2 separate regions of the Homo sapiens genome follow, and region 1 is linked to region 2. Evidence: promoter capture Hi-C in 16 types of primary human blood cells and fetal thymus (Javierre and others, 2016). All regions are on one chromosome and are shown on one strand. The core of a region is centred on a gene start or on the middle of the fragment in contact, and the rest is flanking DNA. Distances in the headings are between cores, read along the strand shown.

The links. The method cuts DNA at HindIII sites, captures the fragments that hold promoters and counts their contacts. A CHiCAGO score of 5 or more calls a contact.
Region 1: a contact is called between a fragment that was not itself captured here and the fragment with the promoter of GASK1B in region 2, in 1 of 17 cell types (M0 macrophages). The highest score is 5.2, in M0 macrophages.

What each region holds. Positions count from the first base shown.
Region 1 is chr4:156,948,056-156,953,852 of GRCh38, reverse strand. All of the region lies in intron 1 of PDGFC (platelet derived growth factor C), which reads left to right. Among named protein-coding and RNA genes, the nearest start is that of PDGFC, 21 kb to the left of the region's middle. The HindIII fragment of the contact is 4,504 bases long and covers 719-5,222 here.
Region 2 is chr4:158,169,576-158,175,571 of GRCh38, reverse strand. GASK1B (golgi associated kinase 1B) reads left to right here and starts at 2,547. Exons shown (of 5, transcript NM_001128424.2): 1 at 2,547-2,704; 2 at 3,973-5,106. The coding sequence starts at 4,197. GASK1B-AS1 (GASK1B antisense RNA 1) reads right to left here and starts at 4,820. Exons shown (of 5, transcript NR_147410.1): 1 at 4,092-4,820. LOC101928007 (a long non-coding RNA gene) reads left to right here. Exons shown (of 4, transcript XR_007058350.1): 3 at 1,306-1,458; 4 at 1,764-1,884. RefSeq lists enhancers at 3,171-4,370, 4,544-5,064. The HindIII fragment of the contact is 3,483 bases long and covers 1-3,018 here.

The DNA of each region.
Region 1 (5,797 bases), core at 1,721-4,220, 1.2 Mb after region 2:
TGGTATTCTTAGTTTCTGAGCTGGGGTGAGTTGGGGGTATTGATTATTGATAGTGAACATAGACTGCTTCTTAGATGGGTAAAGCTCAATGTTCGTATCTTACGTCTTATGCTCTTAGAGAACCTGGGTTTCACCACTTTGGTCAAAAACAGACACACATACTGTTGGTAAGAAGTCATGTTTTATGTCTTTTTATAGAAACTTTGAAAGTATTATCATTCTAAAGTATTTATCGTCCGGTAAAATTTTAAGAACAATGAAGTTTCAGAACCACTATTGAGAGTACATCTTTTTTTCTCTACTTTTTCAAGACAAAGATATCTAGTAACTTAAATTATAGTAACATCGTCATGCACTTGTACAGCAATATAAATGAGAAAGATAATAGAAAAACCAAATAGCATATCACATTTGCTGAATGTGAATACGTTCTTAATGAACCTTTTTAGAATCTCAGACTCCTTCTGATCCCTTTACCATTAGTTGACTTTAGTCTAGAAAACAACTTGGACAGTAACCAGATTGCTAGGTGTCTTTAGTAAGTTGGCTGTTTGATTTGGCTCTTTGAGAGGTGGTCCTATATCTCTGTCAAGGGAAAGTTTTTCAAAACAATTGGTGACTGGAAAATGAGGAATGTTTTGTGCAAGAAGGGAGGCTTTCTCGTTTACAGGATAAAAGACATTTTGGAAGAGTAACTCCCAAGTAAGCAAATGAAGCTTGACTATGTAAATCCTTTTACTTAAGGGATAGAATCCAAGATATTTAAGAAGTCATTTTATTTCTTGAGTTCAGTTATTTAAACATTGTGCTTAGGCTTTTTGTTGGTACTCCAAACATTTTATTAAGATTTCCCTTGGTGTTTTCATAAAAAGACAAAATTCATTATGTTTTATTTGTAAATAATTGTCTTAAACCTAGATGAAAGAGAAAACAAACTTTTCTGTATCATATTCTTTCAGACTAGTTATTCAGTGTTTTTTATGCCCCAAATTTGAAAATGATCACAAATTTTTCACTGATCTGTTTATGTCTAATTTTGGTGCTGGAAAAATAAAAACAGATTACTTAGGGTGTTTAAATCCTGTACAGATTAGTAAACAATACCAAGGAAATTTACTTGGTGTTACTAGAAGGTTGAGGAAGGTTACTGGCTTTTGCAGTCCATTAGTAGATCAATTTGTTAAATGTTTAGTGCTAGGAATCTCATTTATCAGGAAATATCTTAGGCATTGGGGAGAATTGGCCTGTGGTATTTACATTTTAGTCTAGTTGCCAAAATTGATTTTCACGTTTTGTGTGTGACTTAGCTCTTTGTACTGCAGTAGATACCAGGTTAAAGCATAGTTCATATCTTAAAACATTAATAGATTTTGTTTCAGTGCTGCCAATAATTTCAGTGAGTAACAAAAAAACTCCACACTTTCATTAAAATGTTCTTAATGATTTCTGTTTGATTTTCTACGTAGTGATAAATGTTGCCATTTACCCCAGCGGTTTAATAACAACAAATAAGTATTACATTTTGAAGAAACTTGGCAGTATCATTGAATGCCAGTGTGTAATAGCTAATCTATAATTTAGGTTAATTCCATCATTAGTTTGTGACTTGAAATTCTTTGTTTCTGACTGTTTCATGACTTCTTTAAGCACAAAGAGGATATTGGTAGAATCAGGTATGTAGCAAAAGGTCTAGAAATACAGTTTTGATTATTTGAAACACTAGTATTTTAAAATCCAGCAGATGCATTCCTTTGCCTAAATATATTGTGTCTTATGCTATAAAGAGGACACATTTTGTTTTGTTTTAGTGTACATATTAAAACAGTTTATATCCCAAATAAGCTAATATGACTAATGGTTGTCACTGCCCTAATTTTGGGGAAGAAAGTTTGAATCAGAAAAGTGTTCTTGGAAGAAGAATACTCTTTTTTCCTATCTATTTAGGCATTCACTGGAACTTTCTTTACTTCTAAAATTTATGCTTGAAATGGCTCAGAGTTTGTGTATGTGGAGCATATTGGAGGCTGATTGTATCTGTGAGTTTAGGAAAGACTTAACTTGATCCCTTGTGCAATGAAGTCTTTCAAAGAAAACGAGGGTTTTTTGTTTTTTTTTTTTTTTCTATAAGGTAGAGTGGATATTCAGGCTCAGATTTTAGCTAAATTAAGAAGGACCTTTCTCTGTCCAGAATAGTATCACAAAATTAAGACTGGCTCTGGAAGAGAGACAGAGGATGCCCTCTTTTCATTGTCATACACCATTTGAATTGTGTTTGATAAATTTATATTGTGACCTTGAAAATGAAACCACTCAGAAATCCTGGTTAATTTCTGCCCCATGCGTCAGTCTCAAAGGGGAGACCTGCCTTTGCCAACAGACCATTCAGTAAGAAACAAAAATATTAAAACTCCACAATCACAACTTATATGGTCAATAATGGTTTCAAAAATTAAAAAAATTGATCCTGGCATATTTACAAGCAATTATATATAAATACAGGAACATGTATATTATGAATTTTCTTTAAACTATTTGCCTGCATTGATTATAGAGAGAATGAAGCCTCACAATGAAATCTGATTGAATAAATTTAAACACTGTTGTGATCACGAGCGTTGTTTTATTAAGTCACTGGAATGTAAGATACATGAAGCCTGAAATTTTAGTTGTTGTTATTGGAGGTTTATTTATTTTCTCCTACTGCTTTATCTTCAGGATCTAGAACCTTGCCTGGCAGGCAGTAGGTACTCTTAACATTATTTGTTTAGTGAATGAAGAGAAGGGTGTAAGAAGCATCTACCTCTGGAGATAAAAATACAGTGAGGTGAAAGAGAAGTATATATTTTCCTTTCTCCTTGTTTAGGTTATAAACTGTCATATCCATAGCGCCTAGATCAGGGCTTGGTAGTTACTCTGAAATTGAAAGATTCAATAAGTGAATTTTTACATGAAGAAAAATGTGAACTGCTGATTTTGTCTGTTATATCAATTGTCATTTTACTTTTGCTCTTTTTGCCAATTTCTAGAATTTTTTTCTTATTTATTTCATAAATTTGTAGTCATTTAGCAATTCAACAATTATAAACATTTGGAAGTTCTGTGTATTTGTGGGTATAAATAGATTTTTTTTCTGATTTAACACTGCTTTCAAATTGCTTATTGAACTATAGTGGAGAGGAAAAAAAAAGAACTTTTCTTCTACCTCTTAGGTTTAGAAGTTAAACTACAAATTAAACTGACAAAAGACAGAGTAACAGGAGAAAAGGCATATTAATTTTATTAATATTTTAAATTTTGTGTGCATAAGGGCTTCAAAGTAAGGATGTGAAAATCTTAAAAAGCAGTTAGACTTGGGATTTTCTATACCGTTTTAATGAATGGTGATAAATTGTGGAGGAGTGACTAGACAATGGAAAGGGGATTTGAGCTTCTAGCGCCAATGAAGTTTGGGAAAGTGACCAAAAAACATGGGGAAACTAATATTATTATCTAATCATAACAGATAATGTTATTTTAGTAAGGTTATTTTAGTTAAGTCTGCATATACAGTCTCATTCCAGCGCCAGCTGTTTGTCTGTGCTAAGGGTCACTTTCCTCATCCTGGAATGGAGGGAAAGGGGGCATTTATGTCATCTTCAAAAAGGAAAATTTATGTACTACTTTTCGGCAGATAACTGGAGAACGGAGAACTTTTCCCAAATCTGTTTATTCTTACTTGTCTTCAGCTCAAAATAATCCTTATGCCAGAAAGGCATATTTTAGGGTGTCATACTCGAGACCCCTTCATAATCATTGATTAAAACATATGACTGTTTCTGATAGCATATATAGCCTAGGAAAAATGTCATAGGTAGTGCTGGTGGTTGTTGGACATGCTGTTGCTTATGTACCTTTGAGTGAAGCTATTTTTATTTCCTGTTATGCTTACTGCTTGTTTTCCTGAAGGTAAAGCTGTAAGTTACAAATATATGTGACCCAATTCTTAACAGCTTCTGCCAGGACTGACCCTATATCATCTCAGGTATGTCCTCAAGGGGACGTAGGGGAAGGGGAAACAGTTCTGTTTTCTCATTTGTGCAGTCTTTGATTTCCATAGAAAGTCAAAAGTCATTCTAGTAATACACACTTAGGAAATGTGAAGTGCTATGACTCATTTTATTTTGGCTTTGCACAGTGTAGAAAATTTCTTGGCTAGGAAGAAATTCCTTTTCAAACTACCAGTCCTCCCCAAACAATTCTCCTCCCTTCTGAATAGGTAGTTCTCTCTTTGCACAGACATTCTTCTGGGCTTAGCTGCTGTGTAACCTCTTAACCCTTCATTAATAATTTCCTGAGGCCAGTTTGTTATAAAGAAATATTGCAGCACAGACAGTGTGTGAGCAAGAGAGAGAGAGAGAAAGAGCGAGAGAGAAAGAGAGAGAGACACACACACATACTACTTTTTAATGACCAACTAGAATGGGGTTAATGCTCTGAAAGAAATAAAAAAAAAAGTACACATTAGACTTTTTCCCCATTACTTTGCACGTTAATCAAGGAGATCACCCCCTTAGGCAGAAGGTAATAAATACTTTTCAACTTCTCTCTGTTATTCAGAATAAATGGCTCATTTCTATATTATACACATATTTAAATGCTTTGAGTATTTAAAAGAATAATCATGAATCTTTCAAAGAATTCTTAATAGTAGGAGACCGTTGGTGAGTAAATTTATCTCTTTTTGGTTCTTAACAAAAGAGATAGTCTCTCTTTTCTTGAAGAAATCACCAAGGAACTGGATGTTTTCAGAGATGGACATTTGGGCTTCCACTCTCCTGCGCTATAATCCTTTCTCACCTTTCTCATATTTCAGCAGCACAGGACCTCGGTGAATTTCACACTGGTCCCTTGGCTAGCCAGTAGAGCAATAAACCTCCCATGAGAAATGCTGTGAATTACACAGAGCTGTCATTACTCAGGGGATACGGGGCAATGATCAAAATGCTGCCTCCACAGAGAAATGCTCACACTCTAATGTTAAGTGAAAAAGCAGGGTGAGAATAAGATTTTAAATATTTTTATGTATGCCCCCATAAATATTTCTATGTATGTAGAGGAACTAGAATGAAATACACTAAAATGTTGTAAGTATTTCATCTATAAAGGCTGTAGGGCAGCGGTGGGGGTGTTGGTACTTTCCTTTCTAAAATACATAGTATTTTCCAAATTTCCTATAGTAAGCTTATATTACTACTATATTAGAAACAATGCTGTGCTAATTCCTTAAACCTAATTTAAACAGAGGGTTCAGGGAAGGCAAATACAAATAGCATTTTCTCCTATTGTAACGGAAAGCACCTTAATATGCCAAGACTTTTTTTAGAAGCCTAGGAGGTGGCATTCTTAAAGGTGGCCCTTCAGGCTTAAGATTTAAAATTGGCTCTTAATTTTATCCCAGAGCTCGATGTGGATATAGTCAAAGCGGCCGCAGCAGTCGGTGCAGGAGAGCCATCACAACAATTATCTATGTTGTTTTTGGCAGTTTATAAGAAATGTTGTTTTCACAAGACCTAAGAGTTTTGTCTGGGAAGAAAGAAGATAGCTGCCAACATTTGGCACCATATGGGGTTTTCGTCTTTTCCTTTTTTTTTTTTTTTTAGCTGTACATCCCCTCTTGAGCCTTGAAGATCAAGACAATATTCTGGGAGGTTTTTTTTTTTTTTAGTACACTTGTTGGAAACATCTGGAAAATGCCATTAGGTTGCACACCATGGACTTCATTTATAGACAAGTGTGTGAGATAAAAAACATGGAAAGA
Region 2 (5,996 bases), core at 1,298-3,797:
AGGTAATTCCGATGGTCCCTACCATTATCTTACTGTCTACTTTTTCACTTTATTTCTCTCATTGTTTTTTAAGAAGAGAAAGTACTTTAGGCATGAGAATTATTTGTCTCTCTGATCTAATAATATTAATAATAATGAATACTTTGAGTTCTATATGTTCACTCACAGATTATATTGTAAGTTATACACGAATGTTATATTGTGGCAACAAATTTTCAAGCTAACGCTTGTTCAAGGAATTTAGCCTTATTTTTCTAAAACTAAATTAAACTTCTCTGTTTCCCATGCTACCTGATGGCAAAAAACACCTTTCCATTCAGTTTCAACAGAGACCATGAGCAATTGATGGCAATTGCTTCCACATTCGAAAATGAGATATGGATCCGCAGTGCTAAGGGAGGTGGGTTGCTGCATTGGGAAGTCTGAGGTTGCTGGAGCAAATGATGGTGACCATGTCCACTGGATCACTTGTGGGGCAGTACACAGAGGCCCAAGTTAGAAAACCAGCCTGCAGGTCAGCTTAAATGCTGCCTAAGAGAACAGCCTGGAGAGATGAGGTGATCTCAACAGAACAGGGGGCTACCAAGTTCCAAGGGACTAAGGGGCCATCAACAGCCAGCTAGAGAGATGCTTTGATAGTGGTGTCTTTGAATTAACTATCTCAGAGTCAGCTTTACACACCTGCCAAACCTGGAGAGCTTATAAGTCAATTTGCAGCAGTATCAATGGAGTAGCAAGGCCATTTCTGCTATTATTGCTTCTCTCTCTCCACTACCTTGGAACAGCCAGAGCCAGGCTCAAAGTGGGGTGAGCGGCTGGGTGAGTGGTTAAGGAATAAGAGCTCTAGGCAGGAACAAAAAAGAATGTAAGATGGGTCTCCTCTGTCCCTTTTCAGTAGATTTTGGCTATGCTTTTTGAGGGACTGCTATCTTCTGGAGAAATTCTGGGAATTTAAAAGAAATTTTTAAAGAAATTGACTGTGATATAGAATCAAACATATTAATTAGTTTATGTGTATTATGTGTCTGTATGTCTATGGCTAACAACTGGAGAACTTTTACAAAAATTTAAGTATGACTGGAAAAGTCATGGGGACTGCCTGAGTTTCCATTTAAGAAAGTTGAAAAGAGATATCAGGCCACAGAACAGGTTTCAATGGGCAGTGGGGGGAATCACTAAAATTGTGCTCTGATTATATCTGACAAGCCCCATTTATCCACTGTATTGGCTATATCAATATGTTGGCTACAAATAATTCAGTGTGCTTGTCCTCAATTCTACCATGATTGCTTTGCTGTGGTGCAGTGGTGACTATCTGTCAAGGCCTGGGCTGAGGAGAGAGGCCTCTGAGCAGTTTAATGAGGCATCATGGGGGATAAAAACAAACACATTGCTGAATATTTCAAATGATCATTCCAAGGCTGCTATCTCATTCAGTCATCAGAAGAAACCGATAGGGTAAGTGCTATTATTTTTCTTTTCTTACACATGGGGGAAACTGAGGCTTAGAGAGGTAAGATTACTTGCCACAGGGGACCACACGTAAGAGGTAAATGAGGAGAATTTAAAGCCAGTCTGCCTCCCTCTTCAGCCCATTCTCTGAATATCATAGTTCAGAGTAGATAGTGTAGCCTCCACGAATCCCTATTGTGGCTATAGCAGGGGACAGTGTATTGTTCTTTTTCTAGGAGACATTTTTGGAGTGGGGGTGGGAAGGTAGTCAACGAAATTTACTAACTCACACAACTCTCCCTATCTCGTAGGCATTTCTCCATGAAAAAAATAGCTCTAAAAACAGCTAGAGGAGATGTCTGCTTATTATAACTGGCCTCTGCCAAAGGCTTACTTTTAATTGTTATAGAGCCAGGTCAGTTATTCCTTTGACTGTGGAAATAATAAGATGGTTATAAAATGCAGCTTTGGTATGGTTTCCTTGCAAGAAGTTCACATTTTCTATCAAGAAAATAATTCTGTGTGTATGGAAGTGTGTGCCTAAGAGTTTTTGAGTGCAGATAAAATTGTTTTGATGCCTGAATTCTCACAAAGTTTAGCCAAAATATCCAGGTACTTCCAGGCTACTGTCAATATTGGGATTGCTCCTTCTCATTCCTCCATGTGGCAGGACTTTTAAAGAGGAAAAAAGGACTGAGTTTAGAGTGCTGAAATAACAGCCCGATTATAATTTTTGTCAATTTACCACTTGGACGTTTATTCTCTCCTTCCCTATATATTCCAACTCCTTGCTCTTTTTGCATTGTAAAATATAGTATTTTTAGGATTATACACCATATGCTAATCTTTTACCCACTCTTCAGTATCACAACTTTCTTTCTCTGTGGGGAGGAAAAATCCCTGTCCCCTTTCTGTCTTCTTGCCTTTTGATTCTATTTGCCATAGTCTAATTGACACCCCAAGGTCATCAGCCCCTGCCTTTGTGCTAGGACACGCAAACCACCCAGGCCAATCCCTAACCTGTTTTTTCAAAAAACCTCCAATCAGAGAGAATCCACGACTTCCTTTTGTGAACTGTTGCACCGTGCAATTGCACACTATAAATGTCTTTCCTTATCTGTGTGTACTCTTATCTCACTGTTCTATTTTTTCTCCTCATTTATATTAACTCTTTCTTACCTTTTTTTCTGAACTTCTAGGCCTTCTCTTTCCAGAACTGGTGGAAGACAAATGAAACGGCCAAGATGGTAAGGTGAGTAGTTCCTGGGAACGCTTGTGCTCTAACCCCAAGTTATGTGGGATGGACACTCGAGGGGTGATGGCATTCCTCATTTTACAAGTTACTTGCTTGGCTGCGGCTGCTCCACCAAGATAGCAAACATTCTCGATCTTTTGAACTTCATGAGACTGACATTTCTGAGTCTGTTTGCGAACAGGACACTAGAGGGCTCCCAGGGGTTAAAAATAAGTGGAAATTTATTTGAATGAAAACTGATTCTCTACGGCATTTCTTTTTTCCGAATTTAAAATTAAAGTTTATTTTGTTAACTATTGTTTTTAAAAGCTTTGTATCTCTTAAAACCATGCAGCAGTCAGTTTCCAAGTTTTGCTTTGCAATCAGTAGTTTTCAAGGGAGCTTTTAAAGCTGAACTGAAATGTTTGAAATGTGGAACACTCTTGACCATGAAATATGTTCTACTTACATGCCTCAGCCTTTAAAAGTTCTTTGCATTAGAGTCAAGGATTACATTCTTCCTGGAGCCAAGCATGGGGCCAGCTGTGTAAGTAAGGTTGCTTACGAGTTTCTTCTTTTTCTTTTTAATAGTGAAAAAACAGAACTAGAGATGCTTTTATTTTCTTTCAGCTGACTTCGGTGGAAAGAAAAGAAATAAAAAGCAGTCAGAGTTGTGTTGTGTTGTGTGTGTGTATGTGTGTGAGAGAGAGAGAAAGAGAGAGAGAGAGAGAAACAGAATAAATGCAACTGCTTCCAAGATATATGGACATTTATGGCTTTGTATTATACTAACAATGTAAGCTAATGGAACATATTATTAATATGAAGTACAATTTGTACCTTTAGACTAAGAGAATATGTTTCTAAATTTTATTGTTAATACTTGCTGCTTGTACTTAGTTAATTCAGGACTTTAAAAAATAAAAATGGTATAGGTATAGAGTATTAAAAAATTATCTATTACTTGTCTTAAGTTCTTTCTGAATTTCAAAAAGGAAAAGCCCAGGTTTGTCACATTTTAACGCTTTTGCTTCAGAGTCAACTTAAATGACTCTAGGTACAAGTTATAAAACACTCTTGGATTTTTGTGGCTTGTTTTCACTACTTTCAAGTGACTATCAAATCTATACATCTATCTCGTTTGCATGCTTTTAAATTTTATTTTTAAAAACATTTAGTGGTGATATTTATGAAAGGAAATGATTACTTTTTTTCTTGACTCTTGTAGAGGAACTTAAATGGTTTGAAATTGTGACTCAGTTAACTCTGTATCCATTCATTCCCAGAAACAAGCCGCATTTCTCCTTGGGGAGACTGATAATTTAAAAGGTTTGTTGTGTCAGAAACATTCCCAGCTTCATCACCAACCCTTTCCTTCCACCTCTGCCCACTGGAGACCACTTATATCCCGAAGCGGACGCGGCAGCTGAAGTCAGGAAACCATGCATCACATTAGCAGGAGCCAACTGCAGACTTTAAACTCCGTTCAACATGTGGATGCGGCAGAGAAATGACCTGTCCAGACAAGCCGGGGCAGCTCATAAACTGGTTCATCTGCTCCCTGTGCGTCCCGCGGGTGCGTAAGCTCTGGAGCAGCCGGCGTCCAAGGACCCGGAGAAACCTTCTGCTGGGCACTGCGTGTGCCATCTACTTGGGCTTCCTGGTGAGCCAGGTGGGGAGGGCCTCTCTCCAGCATGGACAGGCGGCTGAGAAGGGGCCACATCGCAGCCGCGACACCGCCGAGCCATCCTTCCCTGAGATACCCCTGGATGGTACCCTGGCCCCTCCAGAGTCCCAGGGCAATGGGTCCACTCTGCAGCCCAATGTGGTGTACATTACCCTACGCTCCAAGCGCAGCAAGCCGGCCAATATCCGTGGCACCGTGAAGCCCAAGCGCAGGAAAAAGCATGCAGTGGCATCGGCTGCCCCAGGGCAGGAGGCTTTGGTCGGACCATCCCTTCAGCCGCAGGAAGCGGCAAGGGAAGCTGATGCTGTAGCACCTGGGTACGCTCAGGGAGCAAACCTGGTTAAGATTGGAGAGCGACCCTGGAGGTTGGTGCGGGGTCCGGGAGTGCGAGCCGGGGGCCCAGACTTCCTGCAGCCCAGCTCCAGGGAGAGCAACATTAGGATCTACAGCGAGAGCGCCCCCTCCTGGCTGAGCAAAGATGACATCCGAAGAATGCGACTCTTGGCGGACAGCGCAGTGGCAGGGCTCCGGCCTGTGTCCTCTAGGAGCGGAGCCCGTTTGCTGGTGCTGGAGGGGGGCGCACCTGGCGCTGTGCTCCGCTGTGGCCCTAGCCCCTGTGGGCTTCTCAAGCAGCCCTTGGACATGAGTGAGGTGTTTGCCTTCCACCTAGACAGGATCCTGGGGCTCAACAGGACCCTGCCGTCTGTGAGCAGGAAAGCAGAGTTCATCCAAGGTAACAGATTCACATGCTTCGTTATTTGCAGCTGTTGGGGATTCTGGTTCATTTTCTTTTTTCCCTCACTCTCTTTTTCTAAATGATTTTTCTCCACCCACGGTTCACATTTGGACAGCAGCAGCAGCAGCGTGTCTTTCCATGCGCTTGGCATTCTTTATTTTCCCAGCCTGGGAGGATATGAGAGTTCCAGGGAAATGCTGTATTGGACATGCAAGAGTAAGCCCATACTGTATAATCTTTGCTCTCCATTTCCCTCGCTTCACTTCCCAGTGGCTTATTAAATCTAATTAAAGCCAACGGCAATTTGCATGATGAGGAGAGGAAGCTAGGCTGGAGGCAAAGAACTTGCTGACAGTCAGGCATACTATTAAATAGGTTACTATGGGAGGAAGTAGAAGTTTTTAAAAGTAAGGGGGAAGCGGGTTATCGTTCTTGAGCAGATGGAATCTTCTTAAGCCGCGCAGAGCCAGACCATGTTAGGTTTAACCCCCCCTTTTTTTTTCAATGGATTTAACCTCTTTATTTAACAAATAAAAAGAATGAGCAAAAATTGGTGATTTGTTCAGTATGTATACTAACTAGCTGTGTGGTTTTATCAAGCCCCTGACTATGATCTATTGAGTCTGTCTTTCAAGATTCTCCCGTCTTGGGTGACAAACATTTTGGCAGGTTCTAACACATGTAGCCAGTTACTGCAGTTGCCAGCAAAAGGACTGGTCTGCGGTCATGCCCATGCCATATAAAGGATATTCTCTGAATATTAAAGCTATTCCAGGGCTCGAATACAAAGTACAGTGAGTCAGTGGCTTATGTTTGAATGCAGAATGATGCCAGAAGTTACAACTTTGAATCCAGATTGGCCCAAGAGGCTAAAATGTACCCCAAAG